Linked DNA regions of Homo sapiens: all the other regions are linked to region 4. The links are contacts of gene promoters, found by promoter capture Hi-C in human tissues and cell types (Jung and others, 2019). All regions are on one chromosome and are shown on one strand. The core of a region is centred on a gene start or on the middle of the fragment in contact, and the rest is flanking DNA. Distances in the headings are between cores, read along the strand shown.

What was found. Contacts are between HindIII fragments. The study calls those that stand out against the background at their distance.
Region 1: a contact is called between the fragment with the promoter of WFDC6 here and the fragment with the promoter of UBE2C in region 4, in 3 of the 25 tissues and cell types used here (H1 embryonic stem cells, adrenal gland and mesendoderm cells).
Region 2: a fragment that was not itself captured here is called in contact with the fragment with the promoter of UBE2C in region 4 in 1 of the 25 tissues and cell types used here (heart left ventricle).
Region 3: a fragment that was not itself captured here is called in contact with the fragment with the promoter of UBE2C in region 4 in 2 of the 25 tissues and cell types used here (mesendoderm cells and thymus).

What each region holds. Positions count from the first base shown.
Region 1 is chr20:45,538,082-45,540,781 of GRCh38, forward strand. WFDC6 (WAP four-disulfide core domain 6) reads right to left here and starts at 1,401. Exons shown (of 3, transcript NM_080827.2): 1 at 1,236-1,401; 2 at 1-13. The coding sequence starts at 1,326. It overlaps EPPIN-WFDC6 (EPPIN-WFDC6 readthrough), which reads right to left. Exons shown (of 5, transcript NM_001198986.2): 4 at 1-13. It overlaps EPPIN (epididymal peptidase inhibitor), which reads right to left. Exons shown (of 4, transcript NM_020398.4): 4 at 2,545-2,700. It overlaps LOC107987282 (a long non-coding RNA gene), which reads left to right. Exons shown (of 4, transcript XR_001754641.3): 3 at 455-598; 4 at 1,994-2,306. It also overlaps the pseudogene HSPD1P21. The HindIII fragment of the contact is 28,992 bases long and covers 1-2,700 here.
Region 2 is chr20:45,427,311-45,430,010 of GRCh38, forward strand. It overlaps LOC105372631 (a long non-coding RNA gene), which reads left to right and starts at 112. Exons shown (of 4, transcript NR_159957.1): 1 at 112-235; 2 at 2,135-2,360. The HindIII fragment of the contact is 8,003 bases long and covers 1-2,700 here.
Region 3 is chr20:45,454,666-45,457,365 of GRCh38, forward strand. No RefSeq gene overlaps it. Among named protein-coding and RNA genes, the nearest start is that of WFDC2, 14 kb to the right of the region's middle. The HindIII fragment of the contact is 4,216 bases long and covers 1-2,700 here.
Region 4 is chr20:45,811,309-45,814,008 of GRCh38, forward strand. UBE2C (ubiquitin conjugating enzyme E2 C) reads left to right here and starts at 1,336. Exons shown (of 6, transcript NM_007019.4): 1 at 1,336-1,488; 2 at 2,129-2,156. The coding sequence starts at 1,388. It overlaps DNTTIP1 (deoxynucleotidyltransferase terminal interacting protein 1), which reads left to right. Exons shown (of 13, transcript NM_052951.3): 13 at 1-110. RefSeq lists a silencer at 1,139-1,328. The HindIII fragment of the contact is 8,392 bases long and covers 1-2,700 here.

The DNA.
Region 1 (2,700 bases), core at 151-2,650, 270 kb before region 4:
TTGGGACACGGCTCTAAGGGAGGGGAAGATATATTCCCTCAAGGCCTTAAAGGAGCCAGTGCTCCCCCTCCCCGAGACCAGGGCACCCCTCCAGAGTTAGAGAACTTTGTTTCCACTTCACCTATCCCCAGAAGGTAGTGGCCCTCAGGGGGCTCAGGAATTTCACAACACTGCTCACATCCCCAACCCCATAACAACTCACCATCGGATGCCTAAACCAACCCCTACCCCCTACCCGCACCATCTATGAGATTCCTGAGAGAAAGACGCATTCCTCTAAGACTGTTCTGGTCACTCAGCCTTGCTGTGCTTGGTTGCTCCCCCAGGAGGTGCTGTGGCTCTCGATGATTGAGATTAACATTTCTGGCATCAGATAGCTGGGCTTTTGAATTCTGTGAGACGCTTGGTGTGCCAGGCACTCTCTCTGAGCCTTGATTTCCTCATTTGCCCATAGGGTTGCTTTGAAGACTAACCAGCAACACAGTTTGACAAGCCATCGTCAAACTGCCTGGGGCAATGTAACGTAACAATGAGTAATATGGATGAAGCACTTACTGTGAGCTGCCTTTTCTCCTTAATCCTCATTACAAATCTATGGGTAAGTACTCTTAATATTCACATTTTGTAAACAGAAGAATTGGAAGCATAAGGAGATTATGTGAATTTGCCCAAGATCACACAGCTACTCAGGGGTGGAGCCAGGTTTGAACCTACAATGTGTGGCTCCTGAGTGCTCACTTTCAACCACTAATTTTCAGTGCCCAGTACAGTTAGCTGCTAATTGTGAGTCTTCACATTTCAGCATTCCAAGGGACTTCTGGAGACCATTCTTTAACCCAAAGACCAGGGTCCTCTGTGGGTATGGGTGTGGGGGCTGCAATGAGAACATTTGGAAGTTGACACAGGTGGTGTTGTGGGGAGCAGCCTGTTTTTCTTGTGGGAGACTTCCTTGGGCTTACTACTCCTTCTTAGTTCATTTCATGAGCTCTAGGTCCAGGCACCTCCAGGAAGAACTCTTTGGAATGGCAGCAAGGAGTCACTTGCCACAGATTTGGATGCCTGTATTCACCAAGGGAGTCTCTTACCAAGAGACTTCAAATAGCTCCCCTCTTTCCCACCTGGAATTCCAGGCAGAGGTGGAGAAAATAATTTCTCAGCTGCAAAATTATTCTTTGTTCCTTCCTCCCCACTGAGTTTCCTTTCCCCATTGCAAGGACGGAGTTCCCAATACTTACTGCCAAGGATGCCTTCAGCGTGCCCAGGTTCCTGGATGTCCCCCAAAAGGATGAATGGTACCAGGATTGGCAGAAGTCCTGAGAGTCCCATTTTAGGAAGTACTGGCCTGGTTGATGGCACCAAAACTAAGAACTGCTCCTCAGCAGCTCCTACATCTGCACTTTGCCTGCCCCGGTGTGGCCCAGCACCTTAAGAGACAGCCCTGGAGACAAGCCAGCCAGACTCCCCGATCAGGAACACCAGATCCCTGAGGCCATCAGTGGGACTACCTGGTACCTACACTGGGGGATAGGTGGCTCCTAATCCTCAGCAATCTGAGGCTTTCTGGTCTACCAGGGAAAGAGGGCACATGTTGTCTTGGGCTTTCCAGGCTCCCTTAGCAGAAGGGGAGGTTTAACTCCAGAGTCTTCCATTTCCCAGGGGGAGTTTGCAGGTTAACAGTATGCTAGCTCTCTTCCTTCTTTCTAATTTCACTCTTCTCCTGACATGTCTATTCTTATGTTTTATTTTTCTCACTCTGTTTCTTCTCTTTTCTGTGCATCTGTATGTCTTTTACTCTGTGCCTGTCTTTTTCTCAGGGAGTCTCTGTCTGTCTGAGTCTCTTTCTCCCCGCCCTTCACTTCCCTCTCTCTTCTTTCGTATGTAAAGATCAGTTACATTTATCCTTTAAGTCGTTTGATTTTGCAACAGTAAATAACTTCTTTCATTACTTTGGGACTTCTCCAACTCTGTTCTCCGTTTTTCCCTGTTGTCACAGCTACAGCATTGGATTAAAAGTCACACCCTGAAGCATTAACGCTTGAGCATCTGTACCAAGTTTTATATCCTTGGTATAAGCCCGAAGGAGGTGAGGAGCCAGTTACCTGGGCATCAGTTCCATCTGGCAAAGGACTGTGGGTAATGGAAGCATTTCTGCAGGGTGGCAGCAGGGTGTGTGTGCAGCAAGGCATGTCATCAGTGGTGAGTGAGAAGTTCATTCCTTTTTATGGCCGAATAATAGCCAATGCACATTGACAGCCTCCTACCTCTAGCATCAGTCCCTAATTTTCTGCTGTGGGTTTTCTCTGGCCCCCAGGGAGCTTGTATAGCTTGCAAGTATAACAGTTTGAAAGAGCGAGGGATTTAGTATCCCTGGCATCCAGTGGGCGTTGGGAATCAGTGGACAAATAGCTTAGCTTTCCCATCACTGGAGACAGATTAAGAAAATTTGTGGTCTGATATCCAGAATCTACAAGGAACTTAAACAAATTTACAAGAAAAAAAACAAACAACCCCATTGAAAAGTGGGCAAAGGACATGAACAGACACTTCTCAAAAGAAGACATTTATGCGGCCAACAAACATATGAAAAAAAGCTCAACACCAGTGATCATCAGAGAAATGCAAATCAAAACCACAATGAGATACCATCTCATGCCAGTCAGAATGGTGATTATTAAAAAGTCCAGAAACAACAGATGCTGG
Region 2 (2,700 bases), core at 166-2,665, 380 kb before region 4:
GAGTGAGACTCTGTCTCAAACACACACACACACACACACACCCCAGATGAGAAGTTGCTGCCTCCGGGAAGTTTCCCTTGACGTGTCCGTGCCCCACGCCTTTGCTTCCAGATTGCCTTGGACTTAACACGTGTTCCTTATCAGCTGGCTGCTGTCCTTTGACTTCCACCAGATGGTGTGCTTCCTGGAGGCACAGGTTCTGTCTTTCATTAAGACCTGACCCATCTCAGGACATGTAAGTGCTCAATCAGCAAACGCTAAATGTATTAACTGGGTATGGGCTATTCTGGCTTGAGATCTGGGATCCAAGATAGGGATGGGCAAGGGGCACTCTGGAAGCTCCACATGTGTGAGTGCAGCAGTCTTAACACAGTGGTACAGGTGTCTCTGTAGCCAGCATAGATGGGCTGTGTAGGTTCCTTGAAGGGTTTTAGGAGCCCTCAGCACATGCGGGTGGTATGTGTGCATATGTAGGAAGGAAAGGCGGTGAGCTAGTCTAGACCATGGGCAAAGGCAATTTGTTCAAGGTGCTTTTACTTGAGTTTACTTCAAAAGCAGTAAAGGAGCAGACTGTAAATGAGACAGGAACGCAGGTGAGTGGATACACAAAGCTAAGTGGTCTGTGTAGTGTGCCTAGTGTGGGATGGAGCATGCATAGCATGGGGTGTCTGCCAAGTCAGAAGAGCACAGAGCTGTGGCCTGGCTCTCTTTTATACCCGCAGCCCTGTCAGTACCTAGAAACGACCTCCACTACCATGCCACATGTAACCTACGCTCTGGCAACACCCACATATTTCTAGATCAGACCTCCTCCCTGGATCTTGGATTCATTTACCCAACTGCCTACTTGCTTTCTCCATTTGGATGTCTAAAGACATCTCAAATTGAATATCTCCAAAACCGAGCTTCTGATGTGCTCCACCCCACCCCAAACAGGCCCAACCATAGTCACCTCATCTCTGTAAAAGGTAATTCGTGTCTTTCCAGGCACTCAGGCCAAATACCTTTGAGTCATCCTTGTCTCTCTCTCATCCTGTTTGCACCCTACCTTCAAAATAAATCCAGAATCCCACCCCTTTTCACCACCTCCACTATTATCAGTGAGGTTTTCCCTGGCCATACCCTATTTCAAATTGCTATCCTAGCACGCTACATTCACCTGGGGAACTGAAAAAATCCTGATGCCCAGGCTTTACCCAAACCAGTTAAATCAGAATTTAATGTGGGACTCACAGAGTCTCCAAGTGACACCAATGTGTAGCCAAGCTTAAGAACTTGGTCTTATTTTTAAAGTAGTATGAAAACTTACTGTCTCTCCTAAGCATTCTAACAATGGATACTTTTCAGAATAAGATTGTGTAAAACAGAGAACTCACTTTTAACTTTATAACAATTTATGTATTGTTTGTCTTTTTAAAACAAAAGTATATGTTGAGTTTATAATAAAAGTAAAAATTTGGGCCGGGCGTCGTGGCTCACACCACTCCCAGCACTTTGGGAAGCCGAGGTGGGTGGATCATTTGAGGTCAGGAGTTCGAGACCAGCCTAGCCAACATGGTGAAACCCCGCTTCTACTAAAAATACAAAAATTAGCCAGGCGTGGTGGCGGGTGCCTATAGTCCCAGCTACTCGGGAGGCTGAGGCAGGAGAATCACTTGAACCCAGGAAGTGGAGGTTGCAGTGAGCCGAGATCAGGCCACTGCACTCCAGCCTGGGCGACAGAGTGAGACTCCATCTTGAATAATAATAATAATAAAATAATAATTTGATGAAGACTTAATTAAATCAAATAGGCATCTGGGAGGTCTGGCCCCAGGTCTTCCCCCAGACTGAAGGGTGACCACAGGTGAGCCCTTTCAATATCTGGGCCTTGGACTCCCGCTGAGGTGAAAGTGACCGGGTAGCCTGTTGGAGCCAGCCCTGTCCCATAGGCTATGGGTCTCAGGGTCCTCTTTCCCAATAGCACTTCAGCTCACTTGAGGTCTTTTCTGAGCTGGTCATGCCCACCAGGCAGATGGCAAGGCAGGGCACAGAAGCTGCTGAGCTCCATGGTGCCAAGGGCTGAGCTCCATGAGCCAGGGCTGGGAGGCTGGAACTTATACCTGCAGAAAAAGAAGAGTCCCTGTTTCCACAGGACAAAGGAAATATCTTGTTTTTGATTTCTTGGAAGAGGAAGCACTCTGGGCAAGAGGTATGAGCCGGGATGAAGTGGACTCCTTGTCTGGAGGTGGTGCTACACACCTTGGAGGGGCTCCTGGGAGCTACTGAGAATGTCCCCTAAGTCAGTATTCCTGCCTCAGCTGAAATGCCAGTCTTCAGCCTCATCTACTGCACACTTGAGTCCATGAGATTTTAGAGTGGTAAGTGACCTTTGGGGTCTCAGTTTTCCTATCTGTAAAGGGAGTGGGCTGGACAATGAACAGCTGTTCTCCATTCTTTTGTTATTGGTTCCCATCCAGAGCCTCCCAGCTAGTTGTCTCAACATCCCAGGGGAGAAAGCATAGCTCTTTGTCCATTGGTTTATTTATTCAATTTAGGAATAATGAGTGTATTGTTTTATATGAATAACCATACTTATTTAAAAGATCAAACTAAACTAAATAGTACAAACAAGCGAAATCTCTCCCCAAAGTCTACTATGGTGCTGTGCAACAGAAATATAATACAAGCCACAAATCGAATTTTCAATTTCCTAGTAGC
Region 3 (2,700 bases), core at 84-2,583, 360 kb before region 4:
CAGGGTCTTGCTCTGTCACCCAGGCTGGAGTGCAATGGCGCGATCTCAACTCACTGTCACCTCCACCTCCTGGGTTCAAGCGATTCTCATGCCTTAGTCTCCTGAGTAGCTGGGATTATAGGTGCATGCCACTGAGCCTGGCTAATTTTTGTATTTTTAGTAGAGACAGGGTTTTACCATGTTGGCCAGGCTGATCTTGACCTCCTGACCTCAGGTTCAGGTGATCTGCCTGCTTTGGGCTCCCAAAGTGCTGGGATTACAGGCGTGAGTCAGCCTCTGCTTTTTTTCTCATGTTGATCTCACAGAATCATAGTGATAATTAAATGCTATGATATTTGTGAAATTCCTTGTACAAGTACCTGGCAGAATAACTTCTCGATAAATAATGCTTGGATGATAAAAGTAATAGTAATAATATTCATTAGTAATAATAATCAATAAGTTTATAATGGAAAAGAGCTTGGTACTTATTTATTTTTTATTTTATTTTATTTTATTTTTTTTGAGACGGAGTCTCGCTCTGTCGCCCAGGCTGGAATGCAGTGGCCAGATCTCAGCTCACTGCAAGCTCCGCCTCCCGGGTTCACGCCATTCTCCTGCCTCAGCCTCCCTAGTAGCTGGGACTATAGGCGCCCGCCACCACGCCCGGATAATTTTTTGTATTTTTAGTAGAGACAGGGTTTCACCATGTTAGCCAGGATGGTCTCGATCTCCTGACCTTGTGATCCGCCTGCCTCGGCCTCCCAAAGTGCTGGGATTACAGGCGCGAGCCAAGGAGCTTGGTACTAATTAGAGGGGTTCGGCTTTAGTAGCTATTACCATGTGACTGTTTAGTAGATATTACTGTGTGACCATAAGCAAGTCACTTCACTTTTCTGAGCCAGTTTCCTTCTCCGTAAAATAGGGGAAAAAGCTTGATGCGGTGGCTCATGCCTGTAATCCCAGCACTTTGGGAGGCCAAGGCGGGTGGATCCCTTGAGGCCAGGAGTTCCAGACCAGCGTGACCAACATAGCAAAACCCCATCTCTGCGGGATATCTAGGCAAAGATGTTGAGTAGACACTGATTTATCCATGCACTCGTTCAGCACACGTTTCTTAGAAAGGGTATTCGGTGATTGAAAGTGCAGACCAGACTCCATGGATTCAAATCTGACTCTGCCAATTTACTGGTTGTGTGCGCAAGTCACTTCACTTCTCTGTCATTATTGATGCATCTGTAAAATGGGGTTGGTAATAACAGCTCCTGCCTCTTTGGTTGTTACTGAGGGAGGGGAGGTTAATACACGTATAGACTTTGGAATAGTGCCTGCACTCAGGAAGGACTCAATAGCCATGCTATGATTGAGTGCCGACTGTATGTGCTGGGCACTGTTCTAGGTGCTGGGTCACAAGAGTGAAGGCAGCACACAAGCTCCCCACCCTCCTGGAGCTGACATTTCAGCTGGAGAGAATAATAATTGAGTGAGATAAGTTTCAGGTGGTGATAACTGCTATGAAGAAAAGAACTCAGGGAGGGAGGGATAGCCCTGGGAAAAATACCTAATGTAAATGACGGGTTGATGGGTGTAGTGGGCCAGCAGGGCACATGTATAGCTACGTAATGAGCCTGCACGTTGTGCACACGTACCTTAGAACTTAAAGTATAATAATAAAAAAAAAAAAGAAAATAACTCAGAATACAAGGTGAAGAGGGGCCAGTTTAGGCAGGATGGTTCTGAGTGGAGTGAAGGAAGGAGCCGTGTAGGCCTCTGGTGGATGCAGAAGAAAGAATGAATGCAAAAGTCCTAAGGCAGGAACAAACTCTTCCTGCATGGCAGAAAAAGATAGGCAGGGGCTTGATCACAGCCATGACAAGGTATTTAGATTGTAATTCCATGTACAGTGGAAACCACAGAAGGGCTTGGAACACGAAAGTAACGTGATCTGATTTAATTTTTAAAAGGTCACCAGCTGCCATGAAGAGAACATAACACACCAACAATGGAGAGAGGTCTGGAATGGATAGAGATCTGAGGTTTTTCACCCAGTTGGAAAATGGTACAGCAGGAGTGGCTGACATGGCCCAGGGGTTGTATATAGAATCACAATGATAGGAAAAGGGCAGTTCTGCTCTTGCCTTACCGCGTGATCCTGGAGAGTGTCACCTGTCCCTCAGGTTCTCGTTTACAACAGAAGGTGGCGCCACGTGTGATAATTCAAGCATCCCTTTTAACACTCATGTAATCATGTAATGCAGCCAATAAACACTGCCACAAGGATCTGTTTTACAGTTATGCTCCTTAGAAGCATTTATGAAGCATTTCACACGAATTCTTCTAGTACTTGCTGGGAATGTCCCTGCAGGTCCTGTGCTATGCTGCCTGAACTTGGGATGCCAATTCAGCCACTGTTTTCTCCTCTGTAAGGTGGGGATGACAAAATCTGCTCTGCCCACTTCTCAGGAATGCATGAAGTATGACATTAGAGAAAGCCTGGCGAAGAAGTTTTTGTTTTTTGAGAGGGCAGCATGGAGAAGGGGTTTCTTTCTTTTCTTTTCTTTTCTTTTTTTTAGTTACTTTACATCATGGACTTTTTTTTTTTTTTTTTTTTTTTTTGAGTCAAGAGTCTCGTTCCATCACTCAGGCTGGAGCGCAGTAGCATGATCATAGTTCACTGCAGCCTCGACCTTCTGGGCTCAAGCATCCTCCCACCTCAGCCTC
Region 4 (2,700 bases), core at 86-2,585:
CTGAGCGAGTTTGTAGTGACTCACTGCACAGCACCCCCAGACTAGCATGTGGTTCTATATTTGTAAAGTTATTGGGATAAGAAACAATTAAACAGTTTGTAGTAAACACAGATGGTGAACCTGCTGTGCCCTCTACCTTGTGGGAATTGACAGAACATCAAGGGCTCTAGAAGTGGGTGTAGGAAAAAAGGACGAGATAACCCTCACCCATAACAGTATAGAGCCAGGCTTGATAAGACCAACCTGGGAGCACCATGTACCCTGCCCGTCTTCCCTTTGCCCATTTGTAGTTTCCTTACCCAGCTAATGTAAGGACATGGCAGAATGCGATGGAGTTTGATGACAGATCATATGAAAAATAGAGTTGGCTTTTATTGCTCCCATTTTACAGGTTAAGATACTAAAGGACCCGCCCCAAGGTTACACACTACCCACTGGGGAGGTAGGATATACAGGATATGAACCTGTGTTGTTGGGGTTTTTGTTTGTTTGAAGACAGTCTTGCTCTGTTGCCCAGGCTAGAGTGCAGCCTCTGGCTCAAGCGATTCTCCCGCCTCAGCCTCGCCAGTAGCTGGGACTACAGGCTCGTGCCACCTCACCAGCCTTTTTTTTTTTTCTTTTCTTTTTTTTTTTTTTTCTTTTAAGTAGAGACAGGTCTCCCTATCCTGTTGCTCAGGCTGGTCTCGAACTCCTGGGTTCAAGTGATCCTCCTGCCTGGGCCTTCCAAAGTGTTCGGGATTACGGACGTGAGCCACTGCGACCAGCCTGAACCAATGTTGCCTTTTTTTATTTCTGTCATCTCTGCGGAGATGTATGGACCTATGTTTTCTAATAGGGAGCCTGCTGCTCTGGCCATCAGCCTTTAGTTTTTCCCCTCGCTGGGATTTTCAGATACTTAGGACGCAGCAAAGGTGCCCAGGCGATTATAATGGTGGGAGGGTACCAGTGCTGCAGGATTGGAGGCACTCCCTGCCCGAGGGAAATTGGATCAAGGCTGGGCGTGCCGAGTGTTCCCACGCGGAGTAAGACGTGTAGCCAGAAGGAGGGGTTCATCCCACGTGGACGTTTTCTTGGCCCTTTAATGGTTAGCGTTTTCCAACGGCCACCAATTCGCTACGGATTCGTTAGTTAATGGCAGCATCATCTACCAATCGGTTGTCAGAAGCGGGATTCTGCCGCCCAATAGCGGTGCGCCAGTGGGTAGGTCTAGCAGTGGCGCAGCAATAGAGCGCTCCGGAGCGTCTCATTGGCTGGATCAAACCCAAGCGAGCCATTGATTGGTCGACGCCCCCAGAGGGTTACAATTCAAACGCGGGCGGGCGGGCCCGCAGTCCTGCAGTTGCAGTCGTGTTCTCCGAGTTCCTGTCTCTCTGCCAACGCCGCCCGGATGGCTTCCCAAAACCGCGACCCAGCCGCCACTAGCGTCGCCGCCGCCCGTAAAGGAGCTGAGCCGAGCGGGGGCGCCGCCCGGGGTCCGGTGGGCAAAAGGTGAGTGATGCGGCCTACCACTCGCCGGGCCTGCCATGCCCTAGGCATTGGTACCCAGAGCAAAGATTTCTAGGACCACCCCCCGCCGCCACCTCCTGGAGCGGGAGATCTGCGGGTGCAGGAGAACACACCAGGAGCTCGGGGCCTGGCATTCCCCTGGGCATGGGTGTCGAGGGCGGAGACTTCCGGGACTCCCACCTCCTTGCGCGGGTGAGATTCGAGAGATGGGGGACAGGCCAGGAGCTCAGACCGCTCTTTGAGACTCTCCCGAAGGAGAATGGGAGGGTAGGGGCGCTGCCAGACTCCTTCCCTGGTGGGCCTAGATGAAGACGCTCAAGGACCCTCGTGACTTGGCCGAGACAGGGGAAGGGAGAAGTTGAGTCGGGCAAGGAAGAGATGCTAAAGCCTGGGGAATTAAGAACATGCCAGAATCATCCCGAGGGAGTCTGGAATTAGGGAGGGTGAGGACTCGCTAGGATCGTCCTGTGGATCTGGTGAGTATACCCTGAGCTGAGCCTGACCTTGGTGATGTGGGGAGCCTCCATGACGGCTCCCCCTGAGATTCAGGTGGGAGAAGATGCACCGTCTGGAGGCCTGGCCCATCCAGACTCCCAGGTAACCCCGAATACTCTTTTTTCAGGCTACAGCAGGAGCTGATGACCCTCATGGTGAGTGATTAAGTGCCCAGAACCCCAGCCTTCCATCCAATTTTCAGTAGCCTCCTTTTTTCCGTCAGCTTTTTTGCTAGACATAGGGGTAATGTAATTTGCTCCCTCCTGGGAAAGAAGTTCATACACCCCACCTACACCATTTCTTCCAGCAGTCCCTCCTCCCAATTCCATCCCCCCACACGAAGTTATCTCGAACACTTCCCTGAAGTCATACAAGACCCTCCCTATCCAGTGTGTCCCTACTTCCTAGCCCCAACCAAGCTTTACCCACACCCAACTCCCCGCCCTTCTTGGTATTTCTAGCCTATGAATTTGGTTGCTTTATTTTGGATCAGAGTGATGAGATTAAGGGGAGGCTGGGCGCGGTAGCTCACACCTTATAATCCCAACACTTTGGGGGGCTAAGGTGGGCGGATCACTTGAGGTCAGGAGTTCGAGACCAGCCTGGCCAACATTGCAAAACCCTGTCTCTACTAAAAATACAAAAATTATCCAGGCATGGTGGTGCATGCCTGTAATTTCAGCTACTCGGGAGGCTGAG